Regions from separate parts of the Homo sapiens genome. Here all the other regions are linked to region 2. Evidence: promoter capture Hi-C in 16 types of primary human blood cells and fetal thymus (Javierre and others, 2016). All regions are on one chromosome and are shown on one strand. The core of a region is centred on a gene start or on the middle of the fragment in contact, and the rest is flanking DNA. Distances in the headings are between cores, read along the strand shown. Region 1 has its middle 61 kb from the start of NT5M. Region 2 holds the start of MED9 (mediator complex subunit 9). Region 3 has its middle 78 kb from the start of NT5M. Region 4 has its middle 75 kb from the start of MED9.

Region 1 (2,700 bases), core at 186-2,685, 110 kb after region 2:
AGTACTTGAAAATTGGTGGCACTGAAGGAACTCCAAGTGTCATCAACCACATACATTTACCATGACATTAGATTCCTGCTACAGCTGTGTGAGGTGAGCCAGGAGGGCACTGCCACTCCCCCTTTTAAAAGATGTTAAGGCCAGGCGCGGTGGCTCACGCCTGTAATCCCAGCACTTTGGGAGGCCGAGGCGGGCAGATCACCTGAGGTCAGGAGTTCGAGACCAGCCTCAACATGGAGAAACCCCGTCTCTACTAAAAATACAAAATTAGCCAGGCGTGGTGGTGCATGACTGTAATCCTAGCTACTCAGGAGGCTGAGGCAGGAGAATTGCTTGAACCTGGGAGGTGGAGGTCGCAGTGAGCCAAGATCGCACCATTGCACTCCAGCCTGGGCAACAAGAGCGAAACTCCATCTCAAAAAACAATAAATAAAATAAAATAAAATATGTTAAAACTGATGCCTGGCACAGGTGACCCTGAATGTGAGCTGCAGATTAAAGACAAGGGCTGCCAACTTCTGTTCCCAAGACCTCCCCAACACCTTGCGAAGGGCTTGCAGGAGACCCTTCCTCCTAGTTAGAAAGTGGAGCTTTCCAGGGGAATTAGCCAGATGAAATGAGAAGGAGCAGGTGGGGAACAGAGGAGGGAGCCTGCCCCCACCACACCCATTCCCTGCAGAAAAACGGCTCTTGAATCACCCAAAGTCTAATGAGGGGAATCCAACTCATCCCAACTTCTCTTTTCACATAGTGGAAACGGAGGCACAGGAGGAGAAGGAGGCTGGCAAAGTTCACACAGAGGTAAGTGGCAAAGCTGGGGCCTGACTTGGGTTTCCTGGGACCCTGACCTTGCTGCAAAACGCTGCACCCTCCCGGGGATGGGGACAAAACGCATGTCATCCTGCTTTCCGAACAAAACAGAGGCACCAGGCTTTTACATGTTAAACATTTGGTTTCTTTTTAAACGTTTTCGTCAGCTGTCCTCTGGGCTTTAAAAATAGAGCCAGTCAGACGCAGGCAGGAGCTAAGTCAGGGAGCCAGCCTGAATATTCAGCTCCAGGGTACAAGAGCACCACGAAAGGGCAAAGCCTGATTAATTAACCCATGTCCCCAAGCAGACACAGAGCCGGCGCCTCGTTCCACTTCCTGTGGCTTCCTCCAGGCCTGGGAATCTGGGGAAGGGAGGCCCTGCCTGAAGAGAAGCAGGGTACAGTGTCCAGGCCCAGCAGGACCTAGGCCGAGTCTCTGGGATCTGGAAGAAATGGGTCAGAATTTCCCCAGTGAGGTGAGATGGGCCAGCTACCTTGGGTTTGCCTCTTCCAGGAAGCCCTCCAAGTTTTCAAAGTGCTTCACTTCCCAGGAGAGCCATAGAGAACTACTTTCTCTTTCTTCCTGCTGCTTGGCTCCTTCAAATACACACTTTGCCCCAACCAAGCGGCTGCCCTACCCCTCCCTGGAGTTCAAGGCTACAAAAGGGCTACAGGGTCCTTGACCTTGCCTAACCCTGGGTTTCCCCTCGTTGTGAGATTGGCTGGTTGGTTCTCACAGCTGTTTATTTACCCATCCTGCAGGTGCTCACTCTGTAGGGTGCAGACGAGGCTGAGAAGGGCGGGCTGTCACCTTGAGGGTGTTTATAATCACCCAGGAACAGGGGAACAGGGTGTGTGCATCACTGTGGCAGGAGGCTGATGACCCAAGATGCCATAACAAGATGAAGCCACAGGGGAGGGCCAGGCGGAGACAGGCGAGGCCAACAGAGCCCCTGCCACCTTGCCTGCTCTCTCACCTGCCCCGCCCCTGGCTGCTTGCACAGCCTCATGGACCTGCTCACTCCCTCCAAGGCCACCTCCCTCCTGCCCTGGGTTGTCACGCCCAACCCCCCTCTTCCCCATCACCACCACCTCCCCGGGCTAGCTGATTCCTACTGCTCCTTCATGTCCCATTTAAATCTTCCTCCCTTCCTTAGGAGGTGGCAACGAGTGAGTCAACAAGGAAGGGCTCAGGAGAGGACAGTCCAAGTTTAAGCAGAAGAGGCTCTTTGAGAGACCTGAGACTTAGAGATGCCATGAGAGGGCTGAGCTTGCACACAGGGTCAGGAGGAAGAGTGTCTGGGAGAGGAAAGAACAGGCACAGGAGCTTGGAGGGGAGCAGGGAGGCCCAAGAGGCGGTGCCAATGGACAAACGATGAGGACCATGGTGAGGACTTGGGCTTCTGCCCTAGTAAAGTGTGAGCCATGAGAGGGTTTTGAGCAGAGGAGGGAGGACAGTTGCCTTAGGCTGGAGGAGAACAGACCCTAGGGGGCAAGGGTGGGAGCAGGAGCCAGCTAGGAGCTGACCCAGGGCCACAGTGATGGCGGGTAGATCACTTGAGGTCAGGCATTCAAGCCCAGCCTGGCCGGTGAAACCCCGTCTCTACTAAAAATACAAAAAATTAGCTGGGCGTGGTGGCAGGTGCCTATAATCCCACCTACTTGGGAGGCTGAGGCAGAAGAATTGCTTGAACCCGGTAGGCGGGGGTTGCAGTGAGCCGAGATCGCGCCACTGCACTCCAGCCTGGGCGACAGAGTGAGACTCCGTGTCAAAAAAAAAAGAAAAGAAAAGAAATCTTATTCAGCCACTAAAAGGAAAGGCCAGGCACATACTACCAGGTGAATGAACCTCGACTCCATGATCCTAAGTGGCAGAAGCCAGCCGCGCAAG
Region 2 (2,700 bases), core at 31-2,530:
TACAAGCCTAGGGGTTTACACCTAGTATCACGTGGATATACAGTGAAGTAACATAATGAAAATAATTTACAGCCTGGGCAACATGGTGAAACTCCATCTCTACAAAAAATACAAAAATTCGCTGGGTGCCATGGCTCATGCCTGTGGTTCCGGTTACTTGGGAGGATGAGGTGGGAGGATGGCTTGAGGCCAGGAGGTTGAGGCTGCAGTGAGCCGAGATCACGCCACTGTACTCCAGTCTGGGTGACAGAGCGAGACCCTCTCTCAAAAAAAATAATAATTTAGGCAAACATAAGGATCAGTGAGACTTTTGTGTTTTTGTTTTTGGTTTTTCCTCTACAGAGTCACTTTGAAAACTCAGGCTACCCTGAAGGCTGGCCAAAAGGATGACAACAATTATTTCCTTTGGTACTGTTAGAACAAAGTCAGTACAAGTGGGTCTAATCATCTGAGGCAACTTCTGTGTTTCTGCTTAGTCTAATGTTTCCCATCGCCACCACTCCCGTCTCAATCTTTTTGAATTGTGGGTTATTCCCAATCATGTCTTTTTTTCCTTCTATCTAAACCTTTGGGGGTGAAAAGTTGGCCCCTTTTACTGCGTCCATCCCGTAGCACTTGGCACAGGGAAGATGATGCTTATCTGTTGAGTTTGCTGAACTAAGGAACTAAAGTGAGTATTACCAACATTAAAGGTGAGAAAACTGAGGCTTAAAGAGATTTAATTTGCTCAAGATCGCTGGGATGAACATTTGAGCCGCTGGACAAGAGTCTGCATTTAGTCTCTAAGCTGGCTTCATTCTTAAGGATATCGCACCTCTCGAGGCTCAAATCGTTTGCTTAACTCATGGAATGTCTCTGTGGTCTTGGGAAAGGCCTCTTCCCGCTCTGGGTCTGAGTTTCCCCATCTGTGAAACGGGGGCGTGCCCCAGAGCGCCAAGGCCTCTTGCAGCTCTGAAACGGCTGAGAGGAGAAGCTGGAGGGAGTATGGGGCCTGGTCCTCTCCTAGGTTCTTACCATTTGATGATGTTGTGAACCAAAGGTAAAAAGGAGTAGTTCTCTTCCTCCCTCGCGCGGGCAGGTGACTGAGGCCGTGGCGCCGGCGACTGCTGCGGTTGAGGCGCAGGGACCGGCGGCGGCTGAGGAGGCGGCAGCGGCTTGGTGTCAGGCAGCGGCTGGTCGGACGTTGGCGGCAATACATCCTCCGCCTGTCGCCCGGCTGCCACCCCAGCAGAGGCCATGGCTCCGGGGGTAGGTTAGCCAGAGGTCGGGTCGCCAAAAGCGTCGCGCACTCTACACGTCACCACCGCGCGCCCTGCAGGGGCGGGGTGTGGAGGAAGGCTCTGAGCGTGCGCACTGGGCAGTCGGCGGGAAAAGGCGCGGAGGCGGGGGTGGGGAGGCTGTTGCTAGGCAACGGGCCGTGGGTGGGTCTGGGGTGCCTGGATTTGGATTGTGAGTCAAGATTGCTAAATTATTAAATAGTGAGAAATAGGGGTTTATTTCAGAAATAACAATCTTTTTTTTTTTTTTGAGACGGAATTTCGCTCTTGTTGCCCAGGCTGGAGTGCAGTGGCGCGATCTCGGCTCACCGCAACCTCCGCCTCCCGGGTTCAAGCGATTCTCCTGCCTCAGCCTCCCTAGTAGCTGGGATTACAGGCATGCACCACCACGCCCGGCTAATTTTATATTTTTAGTAGAGACGGGGTTTCTCCATGTTGATCAGGCTGGTCTCGAACTCCCCACCTCAGGTGATCCGCCCGTCTCGGCCTCCCAAAGTGCTGGGATTACAGGCGTGAGCCACTGCACCCGGCCAGAAATAACAATCTTCTTATTCCTATTCACACGATGAAGAGGGCCCCAAAGCCACAAACACAGGAAGCCTTGAGATTAGTAAGGTGCAGCCTGGCCCAGTGCACCCAAGTCTGGAGAGGAGCCACTGGACCTGTGGGAGGCGTAGACAGCACTTACCTGCTGGGTGAGGCACCAAACCCGGCCCAGCCCACAGTGCAAGACATCGAGACCTCGAGTTTAGCCCTAAGGACGCAGAGGCAAAGGGATTGCGGTCCCTTCAATGCTGCAAGGTTGCTTAGAAAGAGTCTAATAATTCAACTCAACACACATTTAGTATGCACCTGCTGGATGGCCACCTGTATGTGTGGTTGCAGGCAGGCTGTCCTTGCTTTCAGTACAAGGTAGAGGGGATTGGTGCCAGGAGTAAATATCATATCCTGGAAGAACGACAAGGTCAGGTACTCTCCATACCTTCGGGCCAGTTCCCCAAGCCCCTAGGTCCCAGTTTCCTCACCCCTAAAATCATATTTAGTTCAGATTCATGGCACAGCCTAAACTGCATTCTAACTTCACATGCGTGGCTGACCCCAAAAGGTCTTGTTGGCATGAGGACTCCCTAGGATCATAGGCCAAAGATGGGTTTATGGTTATGCTTCTCAAAACAAGTTTGATATGAGGGCTGTGTAGTAATTTTCCGGGCAATGGGGACACCCACCCCAAGCTTAGCTAGTGAGTAGAAGACATGAGTGGGGAAAGCTGTCAACTGGTGAGCCCATTCTGCTGTAATCCACCATCATGGGCAGTACAGAGAGGCGAGGAGGTCCACATCCACATAGCATGATGAACAGGAGCCTTAAGAGCAAGGTGGCCAGGGAAAGGATCAATGCTGATATTTTCAGGCACATTGGGAGG
Region 3 (2,700 bases), core at 38-2,537, 96 kb after region 2:
GACTTTAGGCAAATCATTGAATCTCTCTGTGCCTACAAAATAGATATGCTGATAATAAAGCTATTTTGGGGGCTTGTTGAAAGAATTAAATGAGCTAATACTTGCAGAGCACTCAGAGACATGCCGGTTCATGGAAAGTCTCCTGTGAGTGTTGGCACTTTTCATTTTTAACTAGATTTTCAGGAAAAGCTTCACTGAGACGACATCAGACCTTGGACCTTGCAAGACAAATAGGTAGGGAGAGGGGCTCATGTTAGCCATGATCCACTGCAGACCAAGTTCTGGCCAGGGCTTCTACAGCCTTCCTCTTGGGGAATTCCCCCTAACAACTGTAAACTGGCTGATCTCATTGTTCTCAGTTTACAGAGGAAGAACTAAAGCTCAGAGAGGTTAAGAAACTTCCCTAGGGTCACACAGTTTACAAGTGGCAAAGCAAGATTTGCACTAAGTCTGTCTCAATGCCAAGCCTTCCTCCATAGCCTGTCGAGAACTCCTGGGGTGGCAGTTTCTTTGGAGCGATGATGGTTATTGTTCAAAGTTTCTGCAATCTAGTTACCTATGCTTTTTGCTTTTCCTTTACTTTCTTCTTCTCTCTTTTCTTTCCGTCTCTGTGTCTCTCTTTCATTCTTTCTTTTTCTTTTTTAATCCCATAAAAGGAGGAAGCCCAGTAATTCTACTTCTAGGCATTTATGCAAGAGAAATGCAAACATGTCCACACAAAGACTCACACACAAATGTTCACAACAGTTTTATTCATAACAGCCTCAAACTGGGAACAACTCAAAGGGTCAACAGATCCACGGGTAAATGAGCAGGCTCTATTCATGCAGTGGCTTACTACTTTGCAATAAAAAGGAATGGACTACCAATACCCAAGAAAACATGGATGAATCTCAAAATAAACATGCTTAGCAAAAGAAACCACGCCCCCTCCCCCGCCAAAAACAAAAACAAAAAAACATACTGTATGGCTCTATTTACATGAATGTCTAGAACAGGCAAAGCCAAGCGATGTTGGAAAAAAAAAAGACAGCAGCTGTTTCTAGGGACTGGAAGGAGCAAGGGTGAACTTTCCAGGCAACGGTGACACCCTCTGTCTTGAAGAGCTTGAGCCTCACATGTGTGTGCATTTGTCAAGATGCATTGATTGCTACCCTTAAAATTTGTCCATTTCATTATGTATAAATTTCACCCTAAAAAAAAAACAGTTAACAAATACTGAACTCCAGTGAGTGACGTGCATGCTAGCCTGTCTCGGGGTGCGGTGTCCATCTGCAACTTATTTTGCAATACATCAAAAATTTGATGGACAGATGAAGGGGCAGAGGGGCAGGGGGCAGACGGTACAGTTGTAGGTGGTGGCTGCAAAGGTGTTCTCTGTATTATCCTTTCAGCTTTTCTCATGTCTGCAAATGTTCATGATATAGCGCTGGGAATAGGGAAGGGAGGGGAAGAAAGGTGGGAAGGACAGGTTGTCCCATGCCTGGTCTCCTCCCTAGGGACCCAAAGCCTTTTCTCACACGCATAGGGGACCCCTGCATGTGCTCTAGAGACTCAGACCCTTAGAGCTCCCCAAGAGACTAATGGCACCTCCTTTGAGCTTGGCAAAGGCCCTGAGGAAGGGACCCCACAGGCTTTCCCCACGGGAGAAAAACACTCCTGGCAGCCTCAGGAGGCCGGTGGAGGCAGAGCAGCCCACTGTGGGGAAGCCTTCTTTCAACCTCTCTCCCCACTGCCTCCCCCTGTCCTGCCTGACGCCCAGGGTTTCTGCCACACAACCCTCAGGACAGAAGCAGAGACCGTGAAGGCTGGAAGCGCACTCAGGGGTCTCCTCTTCTTACCCAACCTCCACATTTTGCAGATGGGGAAATGGAGGCGCAGGCTGGGGCCTCATCTCTCTTCACCTCCTGACGAATGGGGTCCCAGAGCATCTCCCTCAGTATCGCTGGGAGGATGACCAGGGCCCACAGTGCCGAGGGCGGCTGATGGAGCATGTGCTGTTGTTGCTGCCCATTTTGCAGTTGAGGCTCAGAGCCTTGCCCAAGGGTGCACACCAGGCAGCAGAAGCAGGGTCTGAACACTGAGCAGAGGTGAACAGGAGGGGGCTGATGGTGGAGGGTGAGCTGTGGGGAGTGCAGTACCTTACACTCGGGTTCTAGCCCAGAGGAGGGGGAAGGGCTGGGCCTGAGGACAGTGGGGAGCTTGTGCCCCCATCCTGGGGCTCTTGACGAGCCATCAGCGCTGACATTTATAACTGTGCCTAATGTGCCGGCTGAACCCGAGGGAGCCTTTCCCTCTCTAATCTGCTGGCATTACCCAGCCTTGAAATTATAGCAATTACCCCCAGAGCTGGGTAAATGGCTGTGGGAGGAGGGGAAAGCTTCAGCCCTCTACTCACGGAGGTCGGGAGTCGGGTGGGGCAGGCACTCAGGTTCGCTCTCCCTCCCTCTTTCTCTCCCCGCCTTCCTCCTCCTGATCACCTCTCTCAGGCCCCTCTGGCTTTCTTCATTCTCATTCTGTCCTCAATACACAGCCCTTAATAGACTCATCATTTGTCTACTGGAGAAACTGAGGCTGAGGCTTACGTGTGCTGCCCAAGGTCCCCCAGGAAGGAATGGAGCCAAGATGCACATCCAGGAGCTCTGACTGTAAGTCCCAGAAACAACCCCATGGAAACAAGTGCAGCCCCCTCCACCTCAC
Region 4 (2,700 bases), core at 145-2,644, 76 kb after region 2:
GAGTGAACAATTTCACGGCATTTAGTACATTCTCAGTGCTGTGCAGTCATCACCTCTATCTAGCTCCCGAGCACTTTCATCCCCTGACAGGAACTCCATTCCCATGAGCTGTCACTCCCCACTCCTCCCTTCCTCCGGCCCCAGGCACCCAGCAGTCTGCTTCCTGTCTCTGTTGGTTTACCTATTCTGGATATTTCATATAAGTGGAATTGTATGTGATTTCTTGTGACTGCCATCCTCCCTCTGCATAGTGTTTTCAAGGTCCACTTGTCTTGTACCTTTTTGTGGCTGAATAATATCCCATCGTACAGGTATATCGTACCTCCGTGAGGACCTACAGGGCATCTGACACCTTATGTATGTAGGCTTAGTTTTCCCAACCACCCAAGAACTGGGCACTGTCGTTTGCATTTTTTAGATGAAGAGACTGAGGGTCCGAGAGGCTGCAGAACTTGTCCAGGGTCTGGAAGGTAAGAAGTGTCCAAGCTTGGATCCACATCTGCAGTTGTTACCACTCATCTGTGGATGCACAATTGGGCTGCTTTCACCTTTTGGCTGTTATGAATACTGCTGCTGTAAACACTTATGTATAAGTTTTTGTTCAAATACATGTTTTCTTTTTTTTTTTGAGATGGAGTCTTTCTCTGTTGCCCAGGCTGGAGTGCAGTGGCGCGATCTCGGCTCACTGCAAGCTCCACCTCCTGGGTTCACGCCATTCTCCTGCCTCAGCCTCCTGAGTAGCTGGGACTACAGGCGCCTGCCACCACGCCCAGCTAATTTTTTGTATTTTTAGTAGAGACGGGGTTTCACCGTGTTAGCCAGGATGGTCTCGATCTCCTGACCTCGTGATCTGCCTGCCTCGGCCTCCCAAAGTGCTGGGATTACAGGCGTGAGCCACCATGCCCGGCCACCTGTTTTCAATTCTTTTGTGTAGACACCTCGGAGTGGAATTGCTGGGCCATATGGTGACTCTAGGTTTAACTTGTGAAGAACATTTTTAAACATGTTCCGTGTGGGTGCATATTTTCTCTTTAACTAGAGAGCAGGGCTCTCTTGTTCTTTGGCCCCCTCCATCGTGGCCAGTCCTGGCTCAGCGTGCAGACAAGAGGCCCCCTGAGCTGTGGTGGCACCAGAGGAGTGAGTGTGTGGACCTCACTCCACCCCAAGTGCTGGGATGTTGACTCATGGTCTTGCCAGGCACTCACGTGACTGCTGGTGGGGACCCAGCCTACATATCCTCTGGGCCTTTCTTGGATGCCTCTCCACCTCTTGCTGCCCTCGGGTTCCCTCACTTCCCCCATTCACACTGGAGCTGACCTTGGTCTGATGTGTCTCCACAAGTCCCGCCTCCCCCACGGATGCCCTGTACAGCGGTACAGGCTGTGCACTGCCCAAGGGCATCCTGCCAAAGGCGCAGTGCTCATTGACATTCAGTCCATGCTCCGCTAGCCAAGCCCTGCAACCCTTGGGACTGCAGCCACCATTAGAGGGCGCTTTCTTCCTTCACACAACGCACCACATGGGCTAATGGCAGCCCCCAAGCCCTCGGTGGACCCAGCACTGACGGGATGTGCCCCTTGCTCACTCCCCTGGAAGGGGCAACTCTGCCCACTCTACATTCACTGATGACCTTCCTTCTCCCTGGGGACGTTCATACCCTCAACCTAGGCTCCAGATATTTTCTATGCCCCCTGAGGGGGTGGGTCCATGCCGCCAGTGGGGGTGCCCTGGTGGCCCACTGTAAAGGACTCTCTGCCCCTTACCCCATTCTCACTCCTGAGAGTTCTAGCACCAGATGCCCAGGACGTGCGTGTGTGCCTGCTCACTGGACAGAGGTTCCTGTGTAAACACTGCCATCGGGACCCCAGACACACGCTCCATGTGCACAGACATGCGCTCACGTGGGTGTGTGGGTTAGACATGACATACAGGGATCTGGCCTTCCCTTGCATTGAAACCTAGTTGGCGGGTTGGGAGGGTATGTGGTTAAATCCGAGCAAGAGACACAGACCCCATGAGTGTAATCACATGCCTAAACCAGGCCAGGAGACTCGGGCACACGATGTGGGTTTGTCTGCTATGTGGGCACTGGACTCTGGGAAGCCTGAGCCCCTTGGAGCCCCCGCTGGTGGGACAGGCTGGAGCTAGGAGCTTAGCAACTCGGGTTCCTGGAAGGTAGAGAAACATAAGAGCAAATCAGGAGACAAGAGGAGGCAAGGAAAGCTGGAGGGCAAAGAGGCCCCTGGAAGCCCCTCTAAGCCCAATTTCCCAGTGTTGACAACGAAAACAAAATCAAGCTTTCGAAGAACTAAAGTTCATTTCATTCAGGAGTCTGAGGACTCCAGACCACATCTACTGCCTCAGGGCAGTTCTGTTGAAGCCCACGGCTTACATACAGGTGGTGGAGGTTCAGCAAGTGCAAAATCACATCGGACTTGCTCAGAAGTTACGTTGAAGCAGCAGCCCATCAAGGTGTGGGTGTAAGAGCACCTCTGGTTATAGATGGCAGAGGCATCGTCATTAAGCCTGTCAGAAAGGCAAGGACTAGAGCTCTTCTCTTTTAAGGAATCAAGTGACTCAGGCAAGAGACGTGCGGGGCCGGGCGCTTCATCCTGCTTTGCCTTCAAAGCATCTTTCCAGAGAGCTGCACGTTGTCACAGAGTCAGGGGTTCAAGCAGAAATGAGCCAACGTGGCTTCTT

The links. Contacts are between HindIII fragments. The CHiCAGO score rates a contact against its expected background, and 5 or more counts as called.
Region 1: a fragment that was not itself captured here is called in contact with the fragment with the promoter of MED9 in region 2 in 7 of 17 cell types (M2 macrophages, endothelial precursors, fetal thymus and 4 more); the score reaches 8.2 in M2 macrophages.
Region 3: a contact is called between a fragment that was not itself captured here and the fragment with the promoter of MED9 in region 2, in 6 of 17 cell types (endothelial precursors, M2 macrophages, erythroblasts and 3 more). The highest score is 7.1, in endothelial precursors.
Region 4: a fragment that was not itself captured here is called in contact with the fragment with the promoter of MED9 in region 2 in 3 of 17 cell types (fetal thymus, endothelial precursors and erythroblasts); the score reaches 6.7 in fetal thymus.

The regions. Positions count from the first base shown.
Region 1 is chr17:17,362,793-17,365,492 of GRCh38, reverse strand. No RefSeq gene overlaps it. Among named protein-coding and RNA genes, the nearest start is that of NT5M, 61 kb to the right of the region's middle. The HindIII fragment of the contact is 5,308 bases long and covers 1-2,700 here.
Region 2 is chr17:17,475,580-17,478,279 of GRCh38, reverse strand. It overlaps MED9 (mediator complex subunit 9), which reads right to left and starts at 1,280. Exons shown (of 2, transcript NM_018019.3): 1 at 1,015-1,280. The coding sequence starts at 1,238. RefSeq lists an enhancer at 1,177-1,276. The HindIII fragment of the contact is 9,122 bases long and covers 1-2,511 here.
Region 3 is chr17:17,379,927-17,382,626 of GRCh38, reverse strand. No RefSeq gene overlaps it. Among named protein-coding and RNA genes, the nearest start is that of NT5M, 78 kb to the right of the region's middle. The HindIII fragment of the contact is 2,191 bases long and covers 192-2,382 here.
Region 4 is chr17:17,400,158-17,402,857 of GRCh38, reverse strand. No RefSeq gene overlaps it. Among named protein-coding and RNA genes, the nearest start is that of MED9, 75 kb to the left of the region's middle. The HindIII fragment of the contact is 1,811 bases long and covers 489-2,299 here.